3 separate regions of the Homo sapiens genome follow, and all the other regions are linked to region 1. Evidence: promoter capture Hi-C in 16 types of primary human blood cells and fetal thymus (Javierre and others, 2016). All regions are on one chromosome and are shown on one strand. Each heading gives the region's core, a stretch centred on a gene start or on the middle of the fragment in contact. The rest is flanking DNA. Distances are from core to core; before and after follow the strand shown. Region 1 holds the start of FITM2 (fat storage inducing transmembrane protein 2). Region 2 has its middle 34 kb from the start of YWHAB. Region 3 has its middle 17 kb from the start of YWHAB.

Region 1 (4,453 bases), core at 38-2,537:
CAGCCTCCTGAGTAGCTGGGACCACAGGCCTGAGCCACCAAGTCAGCTAGTTTTTAAAATTATTTCTTATAGATACTGAGTCTCACTGTGTTGCCCAGGTGAAAATAAATTTAGAAATTTAAACTTTAAATGTAATAATTGCACCAGGTGAGATGGCTCACTCCTGTAATCTCAGCACTTTGGGAGGTGAAGGCTGGCAGATCACTTGAGGTTAAGATTTGGAGAGGTCAGATCACTTGAGGACAGGAGTTGGTCAGCCTGGCCGACATGGTGAAACCCCATCTCTACTAAAAATACAAAAATTAGCTGGGTGTGGTGGTGCGTGCCTGTAATCCCAGCTACTCGGGAGGCTGAGGCAGGAGAATCGCTTGAACCTGGGAGGCAGAGGCCTGCAGTGAGCTGAGATCGCGCCACTGCATTCCAGCCTGGGCAACAGAGCGAGACTATGTCTCTAAATAAATTAATTATATTAATTAATTAATTTAATAACTGCAGAGCGTGGTGGCTCACACTTGTAATTGCAGCATTTTAGGAAGCCGAGGCAGGAGGATCGCTTGAGCCCAGGAGTTTGAGACCAGCCTCGACAACGAAGCAAAACCCTGTCTCTACAGAAATAAAAATAAAAAAAATTAGCCAGGTGTGGTGGTGCCCGCCTGTGGTCCCAGCTACTCGGGAGGCTGAGGTGGGAGTATTGCTTGAGACCAGAAATTTGAGGTTGCGGTGAGCTGCGACGGTGCCATTGCACTCCAGCCTGGGCGACAGAGAGGGACCCCCCCCCAACTAACTAATAAATAAATAAATACAATAATTATTCCTAAGGAAACTTCATCTCATGTCCCTCTACGTGTGCCAACGTAATGAACCCCTGAGCTCATAAACTAGCTTTTGGGAAAGGTTGATCTCCTCTTGTCTCTCGCATTTTACAGATGAGAAAACTAAGACTCAGATGGCAGAGGTGTCTCCGAGGCTCCAAGAAAGATCAAATGATGCTGTGACTACTGCTCCAATTCTCCAGGGCTACATTTATCCTCTTCCAGCCTCCAGCAAATACTTTCACAAGCGCTTTTTCCCAGACCAGAGCAAGACGCGGAGGCTCGGGGAGAGGAGGCGGCCAGGAGAGCGCAGAGGAGACGAGCGAGTTCGGGGACCGTCACGCGCCAGAGGCAGCAGCGGCCACGAGGGGGAGCGCGCGGGCTCCGGAGCCCAAGCACGCCTCAAGCTGTGGGACTCGCGGGCAGTGCGCATGCGCTCGAAGGGAGGTGGAGGCGCAGGTCCGGGCGAAGGGCGATACGGTGGCCGAGAGGGCACGGAGAGGAGGACGGTGGCTGACGAGATCCGGCATGGAGCATCTGGAGCGCTGCGAGTGGTTGTTGCGGGGGACGCTGGTGCGGGCGGCCGTGCGGCGCTACCTGCCCTGGGCCCTGGTGGCCTCCATGCTGGCGGGCTCCCTCCTCAAGGAGTTGTCCCCGTTGCCCGAGAGCTACCTCAGCAACAAGCGCAACGTCCTCAACGTGTGAGTGCACCCCGGTCCTCCGCTGTCCCCGCCCGAGCCGGCCCGCTGTCGCCTCGCCCAGAGAAGCCGGTGCTAGCTGCCGTGGTGGACGAGTCATTGGAGGGGAGGTCCTCCTCCTAGCCGTGACAGCAGCATCTGCACGCGTGTCACGCCTGGGAGGCCCCGGGGTAGCTGGTGTCACTAGCAGTTAGTGTTTGCAGACCCACTTTGGGCAGCATGAGCTTGACTGGGCAGGTGGTGACAAGCGGGGTCGTGTGTGTCTCTGTATATGTAGGGGTGTGGAATGGGGTGGGGATGAACCAGCCCCTGTCACCACTCCCCCGCCTCCCCTTGGAGTTAGGAGCTGACCCCTGCCCTGTTTGGGAGATGCCATCTCACCTCTGTCCTGCCTGCCTGTGGCAGACCCCGCGCAGACCCCACCCTGCGTCAGATCAGATCCCTCCAGCGCGTGACAGAATCCCTTTACGACCTGTGGAAGAGCCTCGCCCCAGCCTGTGACAGGCAGAGCCCCCGCCTGTGAGATACTCACAGAGGGCTGGAACCCCCTAGTCTGTGCCCTTTCCCCTGGATCTCCTTGGATCATCTCAGCCACTCAGAATGCATGGCAGTGGCCCAGAAAAGCAATCCCAGCTGGGCGCTTTGAGACATCTCCTTAACTCCACCCATCCACTCCTTTGCTTGCTTACTTGCTTTTTTCAAAACTCCCGGTTAGTAAGTTTATTGCACAAAAACTCTGTTGCGGTCATAAAGGGAAACTCTGAAAGATAAAACTGCTCCCTTGATGTGAGCCTAAGTGTTTTCCAGAATAAGTGTCTCTGGCGTGTCCTGAAAGTCAGCCCAACTTTGGTTATCTGCTTAAAACCCTGGTTCCTTTCACAGGCAGCTTCCTCAAATGCCTGACGGGTCTTGGCTCTGGCAAGATCTTCCTTATCAGTCCCAGTGAAGATTTTAGTGACAGGCCTGGGGGTGGTGCCTGAGAATCCATTGGAACCTAGAAAAAAGTCCTTCTGTCCTTGGTCCACCTTCCTTCCTCACCCACCCTGAGAGGCTGGGCTAAGAATAGATCATGAGAGTGGTAGTGGCCCCAAGTCTCTGTCCTGGGTTTAGGTCAGCCACCTTTCGTGAACGCTGGGGAGGCGGACAAGGCAGCTGCTGCTTCCTCTGGCCTAGGTGAGCTGGGAGCCAAGTGGCCTGGCTGACAACACACCCCTGTTGTTTGAAGGTAGTCATGGATCCTGGAGTTTTGTTCCAAGCCTCTGTGCTGATTAATGAGAGGGAACTAGTGAATCCTGGGATATAGAAGGGACCTTAAAAATCATTTGGTCCTCTCAGCTCTGTTTGATAGCTGAAGAAACTGAGGCCTGGAAAGGTAGGAGGTATAGTAAGTTAAGTAAGAGTGAAGATTTGAACCCGTAAGAGTGAAGATTTGAACCCCGGTCTTTTGGCTTAAAGTAAGACCTTGTTGCAAGACTGTTTCTGCCGTTAGGAAAGAACCAGGCTGGGCGCAGTGGCTCACACCTGTAATCCAGGCACTTTGGGAGGCCAAGGCAGGTGGATCACTTGAGGTCAGGAGTTCAAGACCAGCCTGGCCAACGTGGTGAAACCCCATCTCTACTAAAAATACAAAAATTAGCCTGGCGTGGTGGTGCGTGCCTGTAATTCCAACTACTGAGGAGGCTGAGGCAAGAGAATCACTTGAACCTGGGAGGCGGAGGTTGCAGTGAGCTGAGATCATGCCACTGCATTCCAGCCTGGATGGCAGAGTGAGACTTTGTCTCAAAATAAATAAATAAATAAAAATAAAAATACAAAAATTAGCCGAGTGTGGTGGTAGGTGCCTGTAATCCCAGCTACTCCGGAGGCTGAGGCAGGAGAATTGCTTGAACCCGGGAGGCGGAGGTTGCAGTGAGCCGAGATCGTGCCACTGCACTCCTGGGTAATAAGAGTGAAAACTCTGTCTCAAAAAAAAAAAAATCATTTGGTCCCCCCAGCTCTGTTTAATAGCTGAAGAAACTGAGGGCTGGAGAGGTAGGAGGTATAATAAGTTAAGTCAGAGTCAAGAGTTGAACCCGTGTCTTTGGCTTAAAGTAAAGCTCATTGTTGTAAGACTGTTTCTGCCATTAGGAAAGAACCAGGCCAGGTGCATGGCTCATATCTATAATCCCAGCACTTTGGGAGGCTGAGGCAGGATAATTGCTTGAGGCCTGGAGTTCAAGACCAGTGGGGGCAACATAGCAAGGCCCCATCTCCACAAAAATAATAATTAAAAAAAATTAGCCAGGCACATTGGTACACACCTGTAATCCCAGCTATTTGTGAGGCTGAGGCAGGAGGATTGCTTGAGCCCAGGAGTTTGAGGCTGCAGTGAGGTGTGATTGTGCCACTGCACGCAAGCCTGGGGGACAGAGTGAGATCCTGTCTCAGAAAAATAAAAATAAAAAATAAAAAACCACATATGGTATGGGAGAAACAGCATGAGTCTGGGGGCTATCCAAACCGTGGTTTAATCTGTTCATGCTGGTTGTGTGAGTGTGACCCTGGCAAGGTACTGAACTTTTCTGAGCCTTAGATTTCTTGTCTATAAAATGGAACAATGGCACCTTCCTCCCAGGGTAAATGTGAGTGCTCTATGGGAAAGTGAATGTGTGTGAAAGCTCCTGGCATTTGGTAAATGCTCAGTTATTATTATTTATTTATATTATTTTCCTAAGTAAATAACATAGTGCTTAAGACGACAGATCCTGGATTTGAATCCTGGCTCCTCCGCTTCTGGCCTCCACTTTTGGTGTGGCACTTCCCTCTGTCTCAGTTTTCTTCTCTGTTAAAGGCAGATATTAACAGTACTTAACTCATAGAGTTGTTTTTTTTCGTTTGTTTTGTTTTGTTTTTGAGATGGAGTCTCGCTCTATCGCCCAGGCTGGAGTGCAGTGGCACAATCTC
Region 2 (4,838 bases), core at 412-2,911, 540 kb before region 1:
TTGAGTTTCCCTTCTATGAGCTGCATTGTGAAAACTGTCTCCACACAGGAAGGGGTGATCTTAAGGCTCATCTCATTTTTTTTCTCTCAGGAATCATAGTCTTCATTGTCTGTTGTCCAGTATATGGAAAGCATTGTTTCATATCATTTTGCCTGTTTTCCTAATTGTTTAAGGGAGGATCAATCTGGTCTCTATTACTCTATCATTACTGACAGCAGAAGTCTTTGCCCAACACTTTTGAGAAAAAAATTATACATCTGGAAGATCTGAAAGTCTGAAAAACACTGCTATAGACCTGTTAACTCTCTTCAAAACCGTCCCGGGAAAAAAATCCTTTATAATGTAGGATTTGACCAATCTAGATCAAAATTGCACAATTTCCCCTCCTTGAAATTAAGGACCAAGAAGGGTGGGGAAAGGAGAGAGAAAAAGGAGAAAGGAAACATGAAGGTGTTCTCTCCTTGCTATGGTTTGAGTGTGTGTGTCTCCCCTGAATTTATAAGTTGGAACCTAAGACCTGTTGTGATAGTATGAAGAGGTGGGGACTTTAGGAGGTGATTAAGACATAAGGGATCTACCTTCATGAATGGGCTTAGTGCCCTTATAAAAGAACTAGCTAGGCCCTTTTAGACCTTCCATCTCTTCTGTCATGTGAGGACACAGTATTCATCCTTTTTTGCCCCCTTCCACCATGTGAAGATGCAGCAAGAAGATGCTATCATGAGGCCGGACGCAGTGGCTCACACCTGTAATCCCAGCACTTTGGGAGGGTGAAGCGGGCGGATCACTTGAGGCCAGGAGTTCGAGACCAGTCTGGCCAACACAGCAAAGCCCCATCTCTACTAAAAATACAAAAATTAGCCAAGTGTGATGGCCTCTGCCTGTAATCCTAGCTACTTGAGAGGCTATGTCATGAGAATCACTTGAACCTGGGAGGCGGAGGTTGCAGTGAGCTGAGATCATGCCACTGCACTCCAGCCTGGGCAACAGGGTGAGAGTCCATCTCAAGCAACAAAGAAGGTGCCATCATGAGAGCAGAGAGCAGCCCTTACCAGACGCCAAATTTGCTAGTATCTGTATCTTGATCTTGGACTTCCCAGCCTCCAGAACTGTGAAAAAATAAATTTATCTTCTTTATAAATTACCCAGTCTCAGCTATTTTGCTATAGCAGCACCAATGAACTTGGATACCCCCCAGCACCAAGAAATTCATTCTGCCTGATTTGGAGGCAGCATAATTGTTGACAGCACAGGCACAGGTGCTAACTGCCTGGGTTCAAGTCCCAGCTCTGCCATTTGTAAGCTTTCCTTGGGCTGGTTACTTGACCACTCTGTGCTTCAACCTCCTCATTTGTAGAATATGATGATGGCACTATTAGTGCCTACCTCTTAGGTACTAATATTAGGTACCTTCTTAGGGTTGTTATGAGAGTTAAATAAATTAATGTTTTTTTGTTTGTTTGTTTTTGAGACGGAGTCCCGTACTGTCATCCAGACTGGAGTGCAGTGGTGTGATCTCGGCCCACTGCAACCTCTGTGTCCTGGGTTCAAGCGATTCTCCTGCTTCAGCCTCCCAAGTAGCTGGGATTACAGGCACACACCACCAGGCCCAGCTAATTTTTTTTCTATTTTTAGTAGCGACGGGGTTTCACCATGTTGGCTAGGCTGGTCTCAAATTCCTGACCTCATGTAATCCACCTTCCTTGGCCTCCCAAAGTGCTGGGATTACAGGTGTGAGCCACCATGCTTGGCCAGTAAATTAATGTTTATAAAATACTAAGGACAGTGAATGGTACATAGCAAGCACTATGTAAGTGATTGATTAAAAGTATGAGTTTTTTTTTCATTAAAGAAGTAATACATATTTAGTGCAGATATAGAAGTTCACCAGGGTGGAGAAGTGTGGCCTGCTGAAGCTGTCTGTCTTCCAAGATACCTCTTAGGTTGGATTTCCTTAATGCAGCATATTTGCTCAAGCCTAGCTCTCAATCTTGCAGGTGTGGGAGAAACAAAGCTTGCCATGGTGGCTGGATCAGATCTATCAAAGGCAACTTCCATCTCTATAGTACCAACCACTGGGAGGCCCCAGCACGACTGTGTATTCAGCAATGCTCTCTGCCCAGTGAAAAATTTACACCTTCTTTATTGGGCAAAAATAACCACACAAAACTGGTCGCCTCTGCTTTCTACAACTCAAGTGGCCATGTAAAGTTTTCTTTAACAAACATGTTTTATAACAACTAGTTAAACAGTTACGAGTTTTATGGTTTAAAGATTGTATTTACAATCTGTGTAGTCCTACAGCAGTATCTCTCAGAAAGCCACGTGTCTTCTCATTAAATATTGCTGAACATGAGGAAAAATGAACAACTGTAATATAATCAGGAAAAATTTATATATATATTATTTCTTACTTTTTAAAAATTATGGTAAAATACTCATAACATAAAACTTACCATCTTAACAATTTTCAAATGTACAGTTCAGTGGTATTAACTGCATTCGTACTATTGTGCCATCGCCACCATCCATCCAAAAACCTCTTTTAGTCTTGCAAAACTGAAACTCTGTACTTATTTGACAATATCTCCCCATTCTTCCCTCCACCCAGCCCCTGGCAACCCCCATTATACTTTCTGCCTCTGTGAATTTGACTAATCTAGGTACCTCATATAAGTGGAATCATAAGGTATTTGTCTTTTTGTGACTGGCTTATTTCACTTAGCATTGTGTCTGCAAGGTTCACTTACGTTGTAGCATGGGTCAGAATTTGCTTCCTTTCTAAGACTGAAGAATGTTCCATTGTATGCATGTATCACACTCTGTTCATTCATTTATTCATCAATGGACACTTGGGTTGCTTCCACTTTTGGCTATTATGAATAATGTTGCTGTGAACATTGGTGTACACATATCTCTTTAAAACTCTGTTTTCAATTCTTTTGAATATATACCCAGAAGGCAAATGGCTGCATCATATGGTAATTCTGTTTTTTTAATTTTTTGAGGAACTGCCATTCTGTTTTCCATAGTGGCCGCATCATTTCACATTCCCAAAAACAGTGCCCAAGGGATCCAATTTCTCTACATCCTATACAACACTTGTTTTTTTTTTTTTTTTGACTTATTGATAGTAGCCATCCTAAAGAGTGTGAGATGATATCTCATTGTGGTTTGATTTGCATTTCCCTCATGATTCCTTTCTTTTTTAAGAAACAAATAAGAAATAGCTTACATACAGTTATAAGATAAAGTGCCATATCTTACCAGCATGGCAGAATGAAATAGCACACATGCATATACCTGTGAAACCGCCACCAGATTAAAATATAGAACATTCCCAGCATTCCAGAAGGCTCCCTCATTCCCCTCCCAGTCAGTAAGCTCTAAGATAGCCACTCTTCTGGGGCACGTATAGTTTTCATCTATCCTGTGGCTTTTGCCCCACCAGACCAATTTCCAACAACGCCCTTGGCATATTGTTCTATTACAGTCACAGCAATGTTAACATTCTACATAACCTTCTCTTGCTTATCTTGCTGAGAGGGCAATTTCAGTGCAGTATTTAAAATTCTCCAGGTACTTATGTCCTCCAAATTATTTCCCGTCTCTTACAAGTCTTCTTATCAAATTCAATTGTGACTTCACACTTCTGTAACCAAGATTTGTTTGATTCTACACAAGTTTAGCAGCTGATGTCTTCCCTCAGAAGTGGAATTACATTTACCAAGCTCATGAGACTGAGATGGAAAATCGGAATGTCAATGTATTCATTGATAACATGAAATATAATTGTTAAGCAGACTGACATCTACTCAGCAAAACCAGCACATTCTTTCCTGAAGGCAGATCCAAGTGAAAAGCCAAATTACACAGAGGGTGGCTTGGTGAGCATTTAATCATTCAACATGATCTACTAAAAGACAATTACATGTCAGGGACTGTGCTGGACACTAGGTGGAGAATAGTGAATAAGAAAGACAGGGCTCTGTGCTTGTGGATCCTAAAGTGTAGGAAAAAGACAAGTCCTGAACATATAATCAGACTTGTAGGTTAAAGAAAAAAAAAAACTGTGTATCTTAGACTCTGCTTTCCCTAGATCCACTAAAATAACAGTACAGGGATTTTTTTAAAAGGCAGTACATTCAGACAGGGGTCAGCAAACTATGGTCCGCAGGCCAGATCCAGCCTGTTGGATCTGGCTAAGAAAATAGTCCACATATTGTCTGTGGCTGTTTTCATACTACAATGACAGAGTGGAGTGGATGCAATGGAGACCATATGGCATCCAAAGCCAGGAATGTTTACTACCTGGCTACTGAGAAAATTTGCCAATCCCGGTTCTTGAGCAGCACCGTTCAATGGAACTTTCTGCAGTGATGGAAATGTTCTGCACTGTCTGATGCAGTAGCCAGCCACTACCTTTGTGTGGCTATAGAGCACTTGAAACGTGACTAGTGCAATTGAGAAGCTGAAAGTTTATTTTATTTTAATTACATTTATTTATTTATTTATTTCTGAGACGGAGTCTTGCTCTGTCACCCAGGCTGGAGTGCCAAGTGGCATGATCTTGGCTCACTGCAAACTCTGCCTCCTGTGCTCAAGCAATTCCCCTGCCTCAGCGTCCCGAGTGGCAGGGATTACAGGCACTCGCCACCACACCTGGCTAATTTTTATATTTTTAGTAGAGATGGGGTTTCACCATATTGGCTAGGCTGGTCTCAAACTCCTGACCTCAAGTGATCCACCTACCTTGGCCTCCCAAAGTGCTGGGATCACAGGTATAAAATAGGCCTGGCCTATTTTAATTAAGTTTAAATAGCCACATGCGACTAGAG
Region 3 (4,197 bases), core at 1,465-3,964, 560 kb before region 1:
GATTGACTATAGGGAATTAGGTGGTTACAAATTCATGAGAAGAGCAGGAGTTGCAGAAGTCCAGGAGGCTTTTGTTTCAAAGTCACCATAGATGTGATTGAGAGGCCAGAGGTGCTGCTGCTACTCTTGCTCTGGTCACTGTAACTATCTGACACACATGAAGCTGGGGACTAGGCAGTGGATCAGGGAGTCTAGCCACTTTGATTTTGCTCAAAAGTAAACTTCAAAGATAAAGAGGGCTGTTGTTTGGCTTGAATGAGAAGTTGAAATTGCAAGGCAGTCTATGATATTTCAAGGTCTTTGCTATACATGCAACCAATTTTGGCTTTTCATTTTAATGGAACAAGGGCTGAGATCCTAACTCAGAGAGGTCTATAGGTTTAATCAGAAATAGAGCTCCTCAGTGGCTCATGTCTGTAATCCCAGCGCTTTGGGAGGCCGAGGTGGGTGGATCATCTGAGGTCAGGAGTTTGAGATCAGCCTGTCCAACATGGTGAAACCCCGTCTCTACTAAAAATACAAAAATTAGCTGGGCATGGTGGCCAGCGCCTGTAATCCCAGCTAGTCAGGAGGCTGAGGCAGGAGAATGGCTTGAACCCGGGAGGCGGAGGTTGCAGTGAGCCGAGATTATGCCATTGCACTCCAGCCTGGGCAACAGAGCGAGACTCGGTCTAAAAAAAAAAGATATTTTTTGGCATTTAATTTTAAGTAGGGAAATACCTGCTGTATTCATTTTAAAATAATGTATATTTATTACATAGTAATGTGTGGATATATTTTTATTGTAAGAAAACTAAAATATTAAAGATTAAAAACTAAAATTCCCTATGATCGCCACCTCCCAATGCCATTTCTCCTCCCCAGAAGTAACCACATATCAGTTATATATAGCAACATGTATTATCAGTGATGGTAGGTTAGGTTATGCTACAATAACCTACAATAACAACATCCTCAAAGTCTCAGTGTCTTATATTAATAAAAGTTTATGTCTTTTGTTTGTTTGTTTTTTTGTTGAGACAGGGTCTCACTCTGTCTCCCAGGCTGTAGTGCAGTGGCATGATCATGGCTCACCGTAGCCTCGACCTCCTGGGCTCAGGTGATCCTCTCATCTCAGCCTCCCAAGTAGCTGGGACTACAGATGTGTGCCACAAGGCCCAGCTAATTTTTTGTGGTTTTTGTGGAGACAGGGTTTTACCATGTTGCTCAGGCTGGTCTCGAACTCCCCAGCTCAAGCAATCCATCTGCCTCAGCCTCCCAGAGTGCTGGGATTACAGGCGTGAGCCACTGCGCCCAGCCTAAAAATTTATATCTTAATTGCATGTTTGTGATGGGTTGAATTCAGCTGTATCTCTGGACACAGCTGGAAGAAGCAGCTGGAACATGCTGATCTCATGGAATAAGGAAAAGAGAGAATGGGGGAGCCTCTTAAAGCTTCTGCTTGGATGTCTCACATGTCACTTCCACTCAAATTCCCTTGGCCAAAGCAAATCATATGGCTATGCCTGACTTACGTGGGGTGGGGATGTAGAATCCTTCCATAGGGCAAGTCGGTAAAATTCCATCCTTTTATAGTGTATGTAAAACTCTAGAAATAGATATAATTTTTATATAGTTTATTAGGGTACTGAATCTTATTTCTTCATGCAAAAATATGTCTTAGAGGTCTTTCCATATTATACAAATAGATCCATCTCTTTTTAATTTAATTTTTTAATTTTTTTAACCCCAGGGCAGAAGGCACCATCTCCTTTTTATTTTATTTTTATTTTTATTTTTCAGATGGAATCTCACTCTATCGCCCAGGCTGGAGTGTAGTGGCATGATCTCGGCTCACTGCAACCTCCGACTCCTGGGTTCAAGTGATTCTCCTGCCTCAGCCTCCCAAGTAGCTGGGATTACAGGCGCCCACCACCACGCCTGGCTTTTTTTTTTTTGTATTTTTAGTAGACATGGGGTTTCATCATGTTGGCCAGGCTGGTTTCAAACACCTGACCTCAAGTGATCCCCCAGCCTTGGACTCCCAAAGGGTTAGGATTACAGGCGTGAGCCACTGTGCCTGGCCAATTCTTCCATTTCTTATTTGAGAATGTCAAAGAATGCATCTCCAATCAGCCAGTGGAATATTGCATTTTATTTATTTGTTAATGGCTTGCAACCCATAAAATAATCCATACATTATATCAACATGAATGACCCAAATGTATTGGTTATTGCAGCTGGATGGCATGCATAGCCTAGGTCACAGGTGGATGGAAGACAGACAAAACCATTTTTACTCTCTGAATTCCTCCTCCACTACCCCATCACTGATGTTGTCTCCCTCCCAGCCATCTCCCTTATTTGAGGAGCAATGCATGGGGAATAGGTAGTGGGCGCTGCAGTGCATACTGTGGTGTGCCACCCAGACCCCCATCCCCAGGATGGGGCATTTATTCCCCCAGCTGCTGGGAGCATTGGCTGCTGGCAGCTCTCAGCTGAGTCCCTATGACTGTTCGAGGTGGACATTCCAAGGTCCTGTCCTCTTGCCATCCCAGCTCTATATTCCCCATGGCATTAGCCAAGGCCTCTGCTGAGGTTGCACTGCAGTTTGACTTTTCCTTTCCACAGATGTAATCCCGACAGCACTCTGCAATAGACTTCCTGACTTCAAATCTCCATATTGGAGTCTGATTCCTCGGGACCTGACTCACAACAGCCCACCACAGGCTCTGAAGTCAGACAGAACTGGGTTTCAGTCTTATCCCAAACACCAACTAGATATGTAATCCTAGAGATGATAAGTCCACTATACACCTTGTATGCCTCGGGTTTTTAATATCAACTGAATGTTGATAGTTTCTTGGAAACTGCAACTTTAAGTGAAATGATGTATGATGAAACCATTTTTTCCCTCATAATCATAATGGAAGGACATTACTTGAGGACGTGCTGCACATCATTTTGCTTAAAGTCGCAGTTTCCAAGAACCCATCGAAGAAGTTAAGTGAGGACTTACTATATACACTTCTTGCAGTTACTGTGAGGATGAAATAACACATGTAAAACACTGAGCACAGTATCTGGTACGTACTAGGTGCTCAAAACAAGTGCTAGCATGTTAGTAGTACTATTACATTAAAATGATAATCTTGGTAGAGTAATTAGATGATCCAGGACAGAGGAGATGGAGAGATTTTGCTAAAATTCATTCTCTCTTTTCCCCTCCTTGCCTGCATTTCCAGTGCCCTCACGCCCCGCTGAAACAGAAATAGACCTGTTGTGCTAACTTATTTCCGGAAGATGGCGCCAGCAGATAACGCTGCGGACGAGTCCCTTTGGTTTTCTTTTTCTTTTTCTTTTTCTTTTTCTTTTTTTTTGAGATGGAGTCTCGCTCTGTCGCCCAGGCTGGAGTGCAATGGCACGATCTCGGCTCACTGCAACCTCCGTCTCCCAGGTTTGAGGGATTCTCCTGCCTCAGCCCCCCAAGTAGCTGGGATTACAGTCATGTGCCACCACGCCTGGCTCATTTTTGTATTTTTAATAGGGGGGGGGTTCACCATGTTGGCCAGGCTGGTCTTGAACTCCTGGCCTCAAGTGATCCGCCTACCTCGGCCTCCCAAAGTGCTGGGATTACAGGTGTGAGCCACTACGCCTGGCCAGGAACAATTTTCACTATTCACAGATTACATATCAATTTCACATGTGTTATCTCATTTGATTCTCCTTCACCAACCATTTACCAAATGCTGATTATTCCATCTTTACTGTTTTATCCCTTCGCCAACAAATGCTTACTGAGCACTTACTCTAGCCAAAGAGCATCTTTAAATGCCTTCTCAAGCGCAATGACTAAGAAACAAAAAAGGAAATAGAATTCTAAGCCTCTGCTGGAGAGCTGGACTTTCCAGAGATGAATAAGACAAGTTCCAGCCACTGATTTCTTTCTGGTTCTGGGTTGATGTCAACTTGTGCTCTGGAAGGAGGCTGCTTTCATAAAGCAGAAGAAGCTTAATTCAAGTGAAACTGAGTCAGAAAGAAAGCAATTCCTTTGCAGGAGCAGCTAGGGTGCATCTCAGAGACTGTCTGCAGTACTTCCCAAGGGCTATTGATCTGAGAGCAGAGCATTCGGTCCTTGGACTGGTGAAAATTGCTGAGCAGGCAAAAGAAGAATAAAACCCGTAAAGGGAATGGAGAAAAGATGTTGAAGGGCTTCCG

The links. Contacts are between HindIII fragments. The CHiCAGO score rates a contact against its expected background, and 5 or more counts as called.
Region 2: a contact is called between a fragment that was not itself captured here and the fragment with the promoter of FITM2 in region 1, in 1 of 17 cell types (naive B cells). The highest score is 5.6, in naive B cells.
Region 3: a contact is called between a fragment that was not itself captured here and the fragment with the promoter of FITM2 in region 1, in 1 of 17 cell types (naive B cells). The highest score is 5.7, in naive B cells.

Annotation. Positions count from the first base shown.
Region 1 is chr20:44,308,036-44,312,488 of GRCh38, reverse strand. FITM2 (fat storage inducing transmembrane protein 2) reads left to right here and starts at 1,287. Exons shown (of 2, transcript NM_001080472.4): 1 at 1,287-1,513. The coding sequence starts at 1,341. RefSeq lists enhancers at 1,235-1,384, 981-1,710, 1,675-1,764, 1,711-2,440. The HindIII fragment of the contact is 15,971 bases long and covers 1-4,453 here.
Region 2 is chr20:44,849,018-44,853,855 of GRCh38, reverse strand. No RefSeq gene overlaps it. Among named protein-coding and RNA genes, the nearest start is that of YWHAB, 34 kb to the left of the region's middle. The HindIII fragment of the contact is 711 bases long and covers 1,306-2,016 here.
Region 3 is chr20:44,866,839-44,871,035 of GRCh38, reverse strand. No RefSeq gene overlaps it. Among named protein-coding and RNA genes, the nearest start is that of YWHAB, 17 kb to the left of the region's middle. The HindIII fragment of the contact is 2,555 bases long and covers 1,437-3,991 here.